Regions from separate parts of the Homo sapiens genome. Here all the other regions are linked to region 1. Evidence: promoter capture Hi-C in 16 types of primary human blood cells and fetal thymus (Javierre and others, 2016). All regions are on one chromosome and are shown on one strand. Each heading gives the region's core, a stretch centred on a gene start or on the middle of the fragment in contact. The rest is flanking DNA. Distances are from core to core; before and after follow the strand shown.

Region 1 (4,554 bases), core at 1,264-3,763:
GTACCTCTAGGACACCCAGGTGGAGAAGTCTGGCGGGCTTTTGTGAATAAGGAACCCAGATGAGTGGCCTGAGCTAGAGAGAGTGCACTTGGGAGTTGCTGATATGCGGTAGATAAAGAAGCGGAGTGGATGGAATGGTCCAGGGAGAATGTGTGGCGTGAGACCAGCTGAGGAGAGAATCTGTGAAACTGAGAAGTGGTCACAGGGGTTAAGACAGGAGTCATGCCATGACACCAAGGGAGTTTCAGAAAGAGTGGGCTACTCTGTTCAATGTCACTGAGAGTTCTAACAATATGAGGACTCAGAGATGGCTTGTGGTATTTAGGATCCAACAAGCCATTCATGACTGAGAGCAATGCAGTGATGTGGTGTGGACAGAAACTACATAGGTTTGAGGAGCTGAGGAGCTGCTGAGGAGGTAGAGATGAGGGTAGATGACTTTCAAGATATTTATGAAGGAAAACTCAGAGAGGGACTAGTAACTGAAGCAGAATCTAGAGGGACAGCGAAAGGGTTTCTTCCTTTTTCTTGAGGACAGGAAAAGCTTAAACATGAATAGATGATGAAGGAAAGAGACAAGTAAAGAGAAGTTGGTAATTTTGGAGTGAGAGGGGGAGAATGATTGAAAGGTGTTTGAAAAGTTTTCTGAGGATGTGGGAGGTGAAGAAATAGAGAACAGAGATGGAGAGATGCCAATACAGTGTCCTTGAAGTATTTAATTCCCTTATGGTTTAGGATTGTCTAGTCCACATATTGAAATTACCTTGGTTTCAATCAATAAACCGAACATATCAAGCGATATTTACACATTTATTTTATATTATTTACACATCTTTTCTCCAAAGAACAGAATCAATGTTTTACCCCTCTCAATGCCTTCCACATAGGGGGTGCTCAAAAAGGGCAAATAAAGAAGCTAGAGGTCTCTTACCTGTATTCTGAGTATCTTAATATGTACAAAACATAGCCAAGACCGTGCCTACAAGAGATAAGTCTCCTCAAGCATGAAAATATTCACACACTTCATATATGTAAGGTAAAAGGTAAAATGTCCATCTTTATTTATTTATTTTGAGACGGAGTCTCACTCTCTTGCCCAGACTTGGAGTACAGTGGTGCGATCTCGACTCACTGCAACCTCTGCCTCCTAGGTTCAGGCGATTCTCCTGCCTCAGCCTCCCAAGTAGCTGGGATTACGGCGTACACCACCACGCCCGGCTAATTTTTGTATTTTTAGTAGAGACAGAGTTTCGCCATGTTGGCCAGGCTGGTCTCGAACCCCTGACCTCAAGTGATCCGTCTGCCTCAGCCTCCCAAAGTGCTGGGATTACAGGCGTGAGCCTCCGCGGCAGGCCAGAAAATGCTCATCTTTTGAGGAACCTATTTGTTCCCATTTAACAAAGTTGGTTATCAGCATTTCCTTCACCATAGGAGTTTAAAAATAAAAAGAGGAGAGGAGGAGGAAGAGGGTGTTCTAAAGGCAGGCAGGCAGGCAGGCAGGCAGCAGCAGGAGGTGGCACGATCTGCCTTACCGTAAGGTGCCAAAAAGCAGTGAAAACCATACTCCCAGCATGCAGGCCTGGGGTCGCTTAGCTCTGGAGCTTACAGCCTTCATCATTGACCAATAGCCCCCAAAGGACGTTGCTGTTTTGAGTCTTAAGTAACGTTGAGAATGACCATTTGAACCATTCAAAAAGTCCTTGCTATATTCTAATTTGGCACCATCTCCTGTATTTCACAGTTTGGAAAGAATTCTATAAAAGATGGATAACAGTAAAACACAAAAAAGCTGGTGCTGAGATGGTAAACCTGGCTGCCCCGGCTCCTTTGCCCAAACTGTTTTCCCAGCCCTAATGTCCTCCCTTTTTCCTCCTAGGACTTCTTTTTCTTCCTTCGAGGTTGACCATAAATGCCGCCTCTAGCCCTCTGCGGCGTCCAAGCAGAAGTCGTCTCTAGCTTCTGTGCCAGCATCGCACCGTGGCTTGGCTCTGCACGGGTCATCGGACTTGGTTGTGTACATGGCTGTTTTCCCCGCTAAGTTTGGGGCGCCTCGAGCCCAGGCGCCGTGACCGTGATCGTGCGCCCACAGGCACCTGGTGCAGCGCGGGGCGCACGCCGCGGCTGGGCTAGCTTGCGGAGTTCACGGGGGTCACTCGGGCACAGGCTTGTGACCCAGGCGCGGAGAATGATTCACGGGGTGGCTCTTTGCATTCTTTGTCGGGTAGTCACGTCGGGCCGGGCACCCCGCCGACGGATACCTGCGGATGGAAAGACACCCGGCCCGACGCCAGCGAGCGGGAGAAGCCTGGATGGAGCCAGCTTCCCGCCTGCCCGGAACCCGCCGGCGACCGGTGGGCGGGGCGCGGCCGCGGGGGCGGGGTGGAGGGGGGTTGCTCGGCCGCTCCCGCCCCCTCCCCGCGCGCGGAAGCCACGCCCCCGGCCGCGCGCTCGCGCTGGGCGCGCGCCCGCCCATCCGCCCTCCGCCCTCCGCCCTCGCGCCCTCGCGCCGGGGGCGGGCGCTGCGCGTGCCGGGCGGAGAAGCGGCGCGAGCCGGGCGCTGCGAACGTTCGCCGCGGGGGTGGCTCCGGGGCCTGAGTAGGCGCTGCCGCTGCCTCAGCCGAGGGGGCTGGGCCGGAGCGTGCGGAGGAGTGAGGCCGCAGGAGACCTTCCCGACGACCCCTGCTCCGGCGGGGAAGTGAGCAAGGTGGGGGTCTGCGGCCGCCGCCGGGGCTGTGGGGAGACGAGCTGGGCTGGAGCCTCGCGCCCGCGAGGTGCGGGACGGCAGCTCGCGCTGCGCCGGGACTGGGGACCCGGGAGCCTGCGGGTGCGGCGCTGCAGGAGTCGGGGAGGGCGCGGGGAGCCGGGGCCGCTGCACCGCGCGCGGCTGCGAGGTGGGACGGCGCGGCTAGCCCCGGAGGGACAGGCAGAGGGGATGCGGCGGATCCCGGGCCGGGAGGGGTATCGGGGTCCGGAACGCGCCGGGGCACGGGCGCGAGCGGGGGCCCGGCGCCGGGCTGATGCTGCCCGAGCCCGGCTCGCCTGGAGGCGGCTCTGCGTTAGGTGCTGAAGGGGCGAGTGAGGCAGGTCCTGGCAGAGGGCAGGTGAGGCGGGCAGGCCCTGGCAGAGGGAAGGGTATTTATTTCAGATCACCCCAAATCACTGTTTCCCGAGGCGCCTAATAGCGAACCTGTCCAGGAGGTCACCCTGGACAGGAAAGAAGTGTCCCGAGACGAGGATGCCGGTGACGAATACTTGCCCTTAAATTCCTGTGCCAGGCCTTGGGATTAGGAAGACCTTCCAGCTACCGTAGGTAGAGACCCGTAGTCAGCACTGGGGCCACGAAATAGTATGGAACACCGTCATGTTATTGAGGTGCTGACAGTGTGGCTGTGAAGATATGCACATGAAATACAAAGGAGCGTCGAATTTTATGTCGCATGCCCTATTTACTTTCGGTCTCTTTTGTCTTTTCCCAGTATTGGGAAATTGGAGCCATAAATTGCGTGGTTTTGGGGATAAAGCAGAAAGGTCAAAAGAAGCCTATGGGAGAAATTTGGGAGAGTTTTGAAGGCTCCTACGGGTAACATTTAAAGGGGGCTCTTAGATGGGGAAAAAAGACGTTTGGAAAGAAAGGAAGTTTCCTTCCTTCCCATCTAGAAATAAGCTCCATGACTATTGACTGCTAAATCTTCAGAATGTTGCCTGGCTCACAGCGGTTGAGCCATAAGTGTCTATTGCATGAATGAATGGACAAGCAAGGTTTGGCCACATTTGCCATGGAGCAGTGTCAGTCACTCTAGTGTTAGGGAAGGTTGCTGGATTTCTCCTGTTCCACAAGTTCTCTCTCTCTGCCTCTTTTTTTTTTTTTTTTTTTTTTTTTTTTTTTGCTATGCGAGGCAACCCCGGTTCTGAGGTCTGGGCACGTTAAAGCAATGGCTAAGGCGGCGAGGTCTTGGTTTCTGTGGCCATGCTACCACTTTCCCATGTGTCTTTCATGTTGGCCTTCAAGAGCTTGCTCCTTGGCCTGTTGCTTGAGATCATCCCATTTTGTTCCTTCTCCCATTGGCTTTTTCTATTACTTGAGAAGGAAGAGGGTAGTGTTGTCTAGAGAACACTTTTTCATTTTGGTCCTGGTTCTTGGGTCTTAGACCTGTAGTGCGAGGCTGTTGGTGCCTCTGCTTTTCTGTAAGGGCTGGAATTCTACCTGTGCTCTGCCTTGGTTGAATCTCTGAACTCTGGAGCTCCAGGCTGCTGTTTCAGTAACCTGGGTTGCAGTGCCTGTTGGGTTACTTTGTCTGCCAAATTAAAACTTGACCTTTTATGAGTTCTCTAAGGATTTTTATCATGCATAAGTGGAATTGCCTTTGAAAGGGGTTGTGCAGTCAAGGTAGTGCTGGCAGAGTTTTTGGATGTCCACTATGCCCGAGAGACAAATTTCTACCTATGGTTAGAAAATTAGACTCAGAACCAAGAGAATTTCAACTTATTGTTTATTTTATGTCTTTATGTTACTCTCTCAGGGCCTTAGTTTCTTCGTGTGAAAAATAAGTAATA
Region 2 (4,554 bases), core at 576-3,075, 500 kb before region 1:
CCCCATCTTCACAGCCACATGGGCACACAGCAGTAATCATGGCTCATGACCACCAACAGCTGAACCACAATAGCCCACAGTGACAGATGCTTGTCACCCAAACAACATAACTCAGTCTCCGGCCAAGGGGCCCCTCCCAAATGCACAGGCACACAGGGACCTACCCTTCAAGCCATACAATTCTGACCAGACATTCACACCCTGATGGTGACCCAGCCATAGCCACACACTGTCACACACAACAGACAGCTGGGCCATCACACCAGTTGTTCATTCACTCACCCATTCATTCAATCCATAATCTTTATTGGGCAAGGATGCCTGGTCTCAAGGAGCCCACAGCCAGGTCTAAAGACAATAAACTGACTGACCATTATAATGGGGTGCACAGTAGGAGACAAGCCAGAGTTGGCATGAGGTGGCCGGGGAGCCCAAAGGAGGCCCTACGCAGACCGAGGAGCTCAGAAAAGCTGCCCAGAAAGGGGAGATGCCAAAAAGGATGTGTGGGAAGTGGCCAGAAGACCCCAGGGCAGCGACCTCCATTCACAGGCAGACACAGTACCACACTCTGACCACTCGGCCGCGAGCCAGAGAACTAGACGCTGGCCTGCCCGACGGCGGGGCGCCGATGCTCCCCCATGAGCCTGCTCCCGGGACAGCTGACGCCCACTGTGCCCACTCCTGGCCGCCACGGAGGAGGGGCTGCCGGGCCCCACGGGGAGACGAGGAGCCTGCGGCCGCGGGCCCCATTAGCATTCATGGAAGCGAGTGTGCCAACGCGGGCCAAACCCCTATTCTTCTCACACACAAAACCCCCGGCCTGGCTGCCAGCCCCGGCTACCGCCCATCCCCCAACCAAGCAGCACCCCCCTCCCCCCAAACGGTCCCCTCGCTCCATGCAGCCTCCGGGCGTACCCTCTCGGGCCCCCATGCGTGGTTCCATCAGCCGAGCGGCTGGGGGCCCCAGGTCCTATTAAGAAGTGGGACAAGATTCGGGGGAGGGCCGGGAGTTTGGGGGTCACGCCGGGCAGCAGACCCGGCTCCCGCCGGCCTCTCCCGAAGGTGGCCTGCCCGCCCCAGGACCGAGGCTGCTCCTAGGGAAGAGAAAGGAGGTGCAAGAAGGGTCCCCAGAGGGGCGGAGCAGGACTAGGGGTGGCGGTAAGGGGAAGACAGAGTCCGGGTCCCAGGGATGAGGGAAGACAGAGGTGAGAGGCCAGGGACAAAGGGACCAAGGGGGCGCGGCCGGGGCGGGGGGCCCAGGGGCAGCGGGGGAAAGGGGGGCAACCGACGGGGCGGGAGCAGGGGCTCGGCCCCTTTCCGGACTCCAGCTGGGCGGGAAAACTCTGTCCCGGGCCCTGTCCCCGGTGTCTGTGCCTGTGCTTGTCCGCGGGGCCCAGGAGGCGGACCTGGCGGGTGGGCCCCGCGTCTCCCGGGAGGCGCGCCAGGAACCGCTCGGGGCCCACGCCGGGGAGCTGGGAGGGTGCGGGTGCCGCACCCTCCTCACGATCCCTCTGGCCCCTGGCTGGAGAGCCCACCATTTCCCCGCGGACCCCGGTCCCCATCTCCAGCGACCCCGGTACCTGGCCCAAGGCAGGCGAGCGTGGGCAGGCGGCAGCGGCTGACGATGAGGTCGAGCGGGAAGGCGCCCATGCTCCAGCGCAGGCCGGCCAGCCCGGCCGCCAGCTTCTCCATGGCATGGGCGCCCCGGGGCCGCCGTCCCGGGGCCCCGACGGTCAGTCCCGCGCGGCCCAGGCTCTCGCGCCCGCCGCCACCTCCCGGGGCCGCCGCGGCGCTCGCCGCCTGGCAGCCCCGCCGGGCCGCGGGCGTCACGTGGCCGGCCTCCCCGCAGGGCGCCGACCCCGGCCCCGCCCCCGGGCCCCGCCCCCTCCTCCCGGACCCCGGCCCCCTCCTCCCGGACCCCCGCCCCCTGCTCTGTCCGCCCCGACCCGGACTCGCCGCCGGACCCACCCCCGGACCTCCGCCCCCAGCCCTGTCCGCCCTGCCCCGCCCCGGCCCCCTCTCCTCGGACCCCGTCCCCGCGCCCCCTTCTGGGACCCCGGGTCCCCAGCCCCGCGCTCCGTCCGCCCGCCCCTGCCCCCGCTCCCCGGCCCCCACCCGCCGCTGCCGCCAAGCCCCGCCTCCCCTCCCGCCAGCTTCCCCGCGCCCAGGTGACGGCGGGTGATGGAGGACCCCAGGGCGGGCGCCTGGAGGGACAACGAAGTCCCGAGCGGCATCTGCGGAGTCGGCGCGGGGTCGGCCTCCTCCTTCTGGCTGGGTGTGTCCGGGCCCCGCCGCTCCCCCTCGTGCTGGCCTCCCGGAGGCCGCGCCCACCCGCGCCCTGTCCTGCTCCGCCGCCCAAAGCTCGGGTTCTGAATTCTGCTCTTCCAGGACCTTCATCACCTCCGGCTCCGTGGAGCTGGGCGAGGCAGCCTCCTTAACCCCATTTTACTGATGAGCAAACTGAGGGGCAGAGGTCAGGTGGCAGCCAGGACTTCAACCTAGGTTGGACTTCAACCCAGATTTGACTCCAACCCTACTGCCCAAGAGCACCCTACAGCGCCCCACCATAGAGCACCTTCCACGTTCCCAGCGCCCCCTTAGCCGATAGCCCTGTGTCATGTAAACCGGCGCTCCAACCCTTCCACAGCACGCGGTGTGGACTGCGTCCATTCTGCAGATGAGGAGGCCGAGGTTCGAGGGCGTAACCGGTGCTGCGGTCTCCTCTCGGATCATTACAAGAACCGCCTTCCTCCCCCACCGCCACCATCCCTTCTCTCTTTTCCTTCTCTTTTTTTGAGACTGGGTCTCACTCTATCACCCAGCCTGGAGTGCAGTGGCGCGATCTCGGCTCACTGCAACCCCCACCTCCCGGGCTCAAGCGATCCTCCCACCTCAGCCTGCGGAGTAGCTGGGATGACAGGCACCTGCCACCACTCCTGGCTAATTTTTTTGTATTTTTAGTAGAGACGGCGTTTCACCATGTTGGCCAGGCTGGTCTTGAACTCCTGACCTCAAGCGATCCTCCCGACTCGGCCTCCCAAAGTGCTGGACTTACAGGCGTAAGCCACCGCGCCCAGCCTTCGTTCCCTTCTTTTAATTTGCGTTTCCTTTTCTGCTGTCCTCACCTCTTCCTTCCAAGCCCCCTGGACTCCAGCTCGGGGCCTCCCTTTGGGACCCCCTTCCCAGAAGCTTAGATGGCCTCGGCCTCGGCCTCGCCCTCTCTGTGTCTGCGGCGCCCTCTGCAGGTAATTGGGGGATGATGCGGGCCTGGCTGATCTCGCGGAGCCAGCGGGCCTTAGTCCCTAGGCTGCTCCCTCACGGGAGTGTAGTGGCACGATCTCGGCTCACTGCAACCTCCGCCCCGCAGGTTCAAGCAATTCTCCTGCCTCAGCTTCCTGAGTAGCTGGAATTACATATGTAGCTGGGATTACAGACAAGCACCACCATGCCCGGCTAATTTTTCACCTGGCTAATTTTTGTATTTTTAGTAGAGACAGGGTTTCGCCATGTTGGCCAGGCTGGTCTCGAACTCCGAACTCAAGTGATCCACCCGCCTCGATCCATCAGTCCTCAGCCTCGGTACCCCCGGAAGAACCCCACCAAATACAAACAAAACCCTCTCTTCTGAGGTGACTGACACCTGGCATCTTATGGCTCGAACCCCATGAGAAATGGCAGCCGACAAGATGAACACCACTTCTCAGCGAGAAGAGACGTTTTAGATCAGTGGTTCAATCCTCAACTGCTGCAGAGGAAAAAACTGAGACTCCAAGAGCAGAAATGCTTTGCTCTAAGGTCACACGGCAAGAAAGAGGCAGCGCTGCGACCAGAAGGCAGGACCCCCACCTACCAACTTGACCGAGGCCCTTCCCCAGCCTGGCCCAAACCCAGCCCGCTCACCCTGGCCAGGGAGGAGCTGCTCACCCCGGTGACTCAGGCAGCCCAGATGGACTCCGCTCTCCTGAGTCTGTAGGGGTGGGGTGGGTTCTTTCCCAGGGAAGTGGGAAGGTGAAGCCTGGCAGGAGAAGAAAAGAAAATACAGTGAAAATATAGGAGTCTTAAGAAGGGAATGGGCCAGGCGCGGTGGCTCACACCTGTAATCTCAACAGTTTGGCAGGCCAAGGCAGGTGGATCACTTGAGGTCAGGAGTTCGAGACCAGCCTGGCCAACATGGTGAAACCCTGTCTCTACTAAAAATACAAAAATTATCCAGGCAAAAAATTAGCCGGGCATGGTGGTGCTTGTCTGCCACTCCAGGTACATCTGTAATCCCAGCTACTCAGGAAGCTGAGGCAGGAGAATTGCTTGAACCTGGGAGGCGGAGGTTGCAGTGAGCCGAGATCGTGCCACTACACTCCAGCCTGGGTGACAGAGCGAAACTCCATCTCAAAAAAAAAAAAAAAGAAAAGAAGGGAATGGAAGGTCTGAGACAGGAGGGCGAAAAGGCCGGAAGAAGCAAGTGAATGAGAAGGGTGCTGCCTTAGATTCACTTTTCTTCCCCTACCCTGTAGGGTCTCTCTTTAGGGTGACCGTGTGTCATCCTAACTGGGAGAC
Region 3 (4,554 bases), core at 1,091-3,590, 340 kb after region 1:
GCAGATATTAAGGCCTCTGAGCAAAGGCCTAGGCTGGTAGGGATTAGGTGAGAGCAGAAAATAGGCCGCTGACTGCATGCACCCTGGCCCACGCCAGGGACAGGGGACAAAGTTAGCTTTATAGGATGGCGACTTGAAACTCATTTCTGACCCAAAGTGGAGAACAAATCACTGAGGATCTTCCCCCAAAAGCATCAGTCTGATGGGCTGTTGTGGCCCAAATGGTTCCTGGGGAACTGGAGGTATAACTGGGGCCCGGCCCGGGTATGGAGCTCAGGTGACCCAGCCCTGGCATAGTGAGAGCCTCTTGGGAGGCCACACCCAAGGGAGACAAAGTGGGGCTTCAGGAGGCCCCACGAAGGGGTAGAAGGGGTGTCTAGGAACTTGCTTGGCACGTGGGTTCAACTCTGATCTAGGGGTCCCTGAGCAGGTGGTGATCACCCAGATGATGGGGTGGAGAGGTGAGGTGGGGGCAAATACAAGTTCCTCTGTCTGCAGTCGTCTTGCTACCCCAGGAAGCTCAGGGCTGGTTGCTTAGCAACAGCACTTACCACCCTCTTCCACCTTACCCTCCCGCACCCCACCCATGGGTGCCTCTTGGGGCTTCCCTTCCCCCGAGGCTGCCCCTGTTCAATAGGACATGGGAAGGGTCTGTGCACTTTTTTGACCCTGCCCCTGGAATAAGGCAGGAACAGACATAAAAGGACCTATGACTTGGAGGCAAGCACAGAACTGGCCCCTCTACAAACCAGCTGTTTAATCCAAGGCTGGTAGGGGACAGATGTGCAGGGCAAAAAAGGCGTTCGGGAGTCAGGCCGACCTGGAGGACTGTCTCAGCCCCATTTGTGCTCAGTTGCTGCTGGCCCCAAACCACCTGGAGCTGCAGGTTTTTCATCTGTAAATCGGGGATAAGAATAGCAGTCTCATCTTACAGGGGTTGCCTGAATGACGTGCAATATTTTGTGAAACAGCTAGCACTATGCCTGGCACAGAGAAGGTGCTCAGGAGGCATGAGCTGCTTTTCTTTACGTGGGGGTTGTTCCAGGGCTGCCTGGTTAGGGTGACCCCCACAAAGCCCTGCTGCTCTGTAAGGCCCTGCTGCTCTGTAAGACCCTGCAAGTGGCCAGGTGCAGTGGCTCACGCCTGTAATCCCAGCGCTTTGGGAGGCCGAGGCGGGTGGATCATCTGAGGTGAGGAGTTCGAGACCAGCCTGGCCAACATGGTGAAACCACCTCTCTACTAAAAATACAAAAATTTAGCTGGGTGTGATGGTGCACGCCTGTAATCCCAGCTACTCCGGAGGCTGAGGCAGGAGAATCACTTGAACCCGGGAGGTGGAGGTTGCAGTGAGCCGAGATCGCGCCACTGCACTCCAGCCTGGGCGACAGAGTGAGACTTCGTCTCAAAAGAAAAAAAAAAAAAAGACCTGCAAGTGTGGCCTGTCCTCCCCATGGCCCCTCACGGTGAGGGGAAGAGATAATCAAGTTGAGAATGACCCCCAAGCCCATGGTGGACTCTGGGCTGGGAGTCAGGGGCCACAGGGGAGTGGCAGGGATAGAGAAAGATGTCTCTGTCCTCCTTAGCTTCCGTTATCTGACCCAGGTCCCTTTTTCCAGCTGCCAATAAGTTGTCCCTTTTTCTCTTAGCCTTTCTGCACCTCCACTTCTTCCTGTGAAGCCAGGATTTGCCTGTACCTTTTTTGATCTCTTCAGAGTCCCCTGTCCATGTGGGGACCCAGTAGCCTGCTCAAGGCCTGGGCCCTCTTTCCCTCCCTGCCCACTGGTCTCTTTGGAGCTAAGCGGAGAGTGGCCTTTGCTGGGTTCTGGCTCTGCCCCACGGCCTGGAGGCAGGGGAGGGTCTAGACCACAGCCCGGCCTGGCAGCTGGCACGCAGCAAGGGCTCCTAATGGTTTTATTACCAGCAACAATGTGGTGCTTGTTGCCATCCACGCACAGGCTGGTGGTTCCCAGCCCAACTGGTGGTGGCCTGAGGGCCCTGCCTGGTACTGGAAGCTCAGCTGGGAAGCCCAGTGGGGCTGGGCAGTCAGTCACCTCTGCGTTTTCTTCTGTCAACACCCTGCCAGCAGCCTGGAATCAGAGGGAGCCAGGGCACGGCATGGCGAGATGCTGGCCCCCGAGTTGGCAGGCCTGGCAGCACTTGAGTTTTCTTTCCAGAGGTCCCTGCCTCAGATCCACAAATGATGTTCATCCATTCATCTAAGAGACCTACTGTGTGCCAGACACAGGCTGCATAGATGAAGGGGGTCACACTCATCTCAATGACCCTGCAGCTTAGGTGGGGTCTGGCAGGGCGGAAGGACCCCTGGCACACCATGTCCAGGGATTACCAGGGCTCAGAGAAGGAAGTCGGATTCAGGGGGAGAGAAGATCTGGAAGGGCTTTCTAAAGGAGGTGACGCTTGAGCTGAGTCTCGAAGCGGAGGGAGCAGTTAGCTAGGTGGACGACGGCACTTTCTGGCCCCATGTGGCTGCAGTGTAGGGAACGATGGGATACGAAGCCAGGGGCCTGGGCCGGGGGACATGGAAGGCGGGATGTTATGAACGGACGTTGGGCTTGGGATTTATATTTGAGAAGGATCATTCTAGGGCATCGAGGACGAGAGCTCGGGCAATAGGGTTTAGGGGCAGGGAGCCCGGGTGGAAGGCTGGCACAGAAGTCCGGGGCAGCAATGTGGGCCTGGACAGGGTGTGCGTGGTGTGACATTTAGGAAGTGCAGTCAGTAGGAACAGGCGGGATAAAAGCAATGAGGGGAGTTGGGGTGGCTGTCTGGTTTCTAGCTCAGCCAACTGTGTGGGTGGGGATGCCCTTCATGGAGGGGGCATGGGTTGGGGGGAGTCGGAGAGAGCAGGAGGTGCCTCCCACATGGAGCTGGGTTGTAGCTGGGGCTTGAGGGCGGGTGGGATTTCCCCAGGGGGAGGCTGAGCCAGGCCAGGCTTGCAGAAGGAGGCTGGAGCCTGAGTCATAAGGCCTGGAGGCGGGGTGCCTTGTGCGATGGATGAGAAAGGCAGGTGCATTTCAGTCTGTAACTGGTACGACCCCTGCAGATGTTTGAAGGAAGATTTTGAGGAAGGTGCTCGCACCCTTGCATTGGGAATGCTGATGAGTTAGCGCCTCTACTTCACAGTGATTTCCCCAAAAGATGAGCTGCAAGGCCTAGACCCTGGCCCTCCACCCAGGACCTGCGGCGAGCATCATCACCGTCTGAGAATCTTTGGGTGGGCTGGAAGTTGATGTCAAGCTGTCCAGCCTTTCCGTCACTCTCCATTCAGAGGCAGGTCTGCGGAGAGAGATAGGAGGGACAAGCTGGGGACAGCATTTTTGGAAAGCAAACAGAAAAGAAGCAAAAACTGTTCCTCTAAAATAGAAAGGAGGCTTATGTGTGTTATGTGAAGGATAATGTGGAAGGCTATTTCCAAAGAATTTCTCAAAAAATGACGTGAGCCATGTCAGCATCATTGAATTTAGATAGAGGCCAGGAGCAGTGTGGCATCGTGCTGGGGCCACCAGGCTGGGGACTGGACAGATGATGGTTTCACCTCACCCCTGCCACCTCCTTGCTGCGTGTCATTGGAAGATCACTCAACCTTTCTTAGGCTCAGTTTTACCATCTGTAAAATGGACATAACTTCACAGGCTGGTGTTGTTTGTTTTGAGCATTGCTTCTTGGACTAAACCTGGATATTTTTTCCTTCCCTCCCTCGCTTCTGCACTTCCTCTGGTTCTTTGCCTCCCAAGAAGCCTGTTTCCTCCTGTTCCCTCCAAAACTCCAAGTTTTGAGTTCCCCCTTCCTGGGAAGGTCCATTCGTCATGTTCTATTGACTCTCTTGTTCCCAATTATTCCCTGCAAACCTGGTTCACCCAGTGTATTTGAAGAGCATCTACTGAGCTAAATGGGAGTTATTGGGGGTCAGTTCCTGTTTTCTTTTTAATAAGGGGAGGGAGGGTCTGTGCAGAGCTGTCCGGGAGAGCAGAGGGCATGGGGGACAGGGGGGATGTTGCAGGACCCAGTGGGACCACAGCTGGGACCTTGCCCTGTAGCTGGCTCAGTGTGCCAGGGGATAGGGGCACAGAGCCCTGGTGGGTCTGGGAGATGAGCTTGGGAAGGACTTGGCCTGGACATGGGCTAGGCTGCCCTGCTTTCCGAGCCAGACCTCAGGAGATGGCAGAGAGGGCCGCTTCCTCTGTGAGGGCCGTACATGATGGCCCTTGGGCTGTATGGTGGCCTTGTGACATGCAGCCACACCCCTGGGGAGACCTTTGAAGCATCTCTGCATTCTGGAGGATCTGCTGGGAAGATGGCTTCGCAGCGGGGCTCTTGTTGATGCTGCCAAGAAGGCCGGGTGGGAGTCGGGCTGTCTCTGGCTGGGGGTGGGGTGGGGGCTGCGGTCCATCCGAGTGTGGAAATCCACGTTTCTCTGGTTTGTGCAGACCTGTGCAAGCAGCCATGCTGCAGGACTGGCCCCCTGGAAGTGGGGCATACATGAACTCAGGGTGTGGCGTTGTAATCAAATGAAATGTACAGCATAATTAATCT

The links. Contacts are between HindIII fragments. The CHiCAGO score rates a contact against its expected background, and 5 or more counts as called.
Region 2: the fragment with the promoter of GAREM2 here is called in contact with the fragment with the promoter of DTNB in region 1 in 6 of 17 cell types (naive CD8 T cells, total CD4 T cells, non-activated CD4 T cells and 3 more); the score reaches 9.0 in naive CD8 T cells.
Region 3: a contact is called between a fragment that was not itself captured here and the fragment with the promoter of DTNB in region 1, in 1 of 17 cell types (erythroblasts). The highest score is 5.1, in erythroblasts.

What each region holds. Positions count from the first base shown.
Region 1 is chr2:25,671,536-25,676,089 of GRCh38, reverse strand. DTNB (dystrobrevin beta) reads left to right here and starts at 2,513. Exons shown (of 21, transcript NM_021907.5): 1 at 2,513-2,704. RefSeq lists an enhancer at 118-327 and silencers at 2,476-2,770, 2,135-3,064. The HindIII fragment of the contact is 7,823 bases long and covers 547-4,554 here.
Region 2 is chr2:26,170,359-26,174,912 of GRCh38, reverse strand. It overlaps GAREM2 (GRB2 associated regulator of MAPK1 subtype 2), which reads right to left and starts at 1,825. Exons shown (of 6, transcript NM_001168241.2): 1 at 1,581-1,825. The coding sequence starts at 1,692. The HindIII fragment of the contact is 3,276 bases long and covers 1-3,191 here.
Region 3 is chr2:25,330,198-25,334,751 of GRCh38, reverse strand. The region is part of intron 1 of DNMT3A (DNA methyltransferase 3 alpha); the gene reads left to right. Among named protein-coding and RNA genes, the nearest start is that of MIR1301, 3.8 kb to the right of the region's middle. RefSeq lists enhancers at 1-478, 3,726-4,226, 4,227-4,554. The HindIII fragment of the contact is 4,771 bases long and covers 1-4,554 here.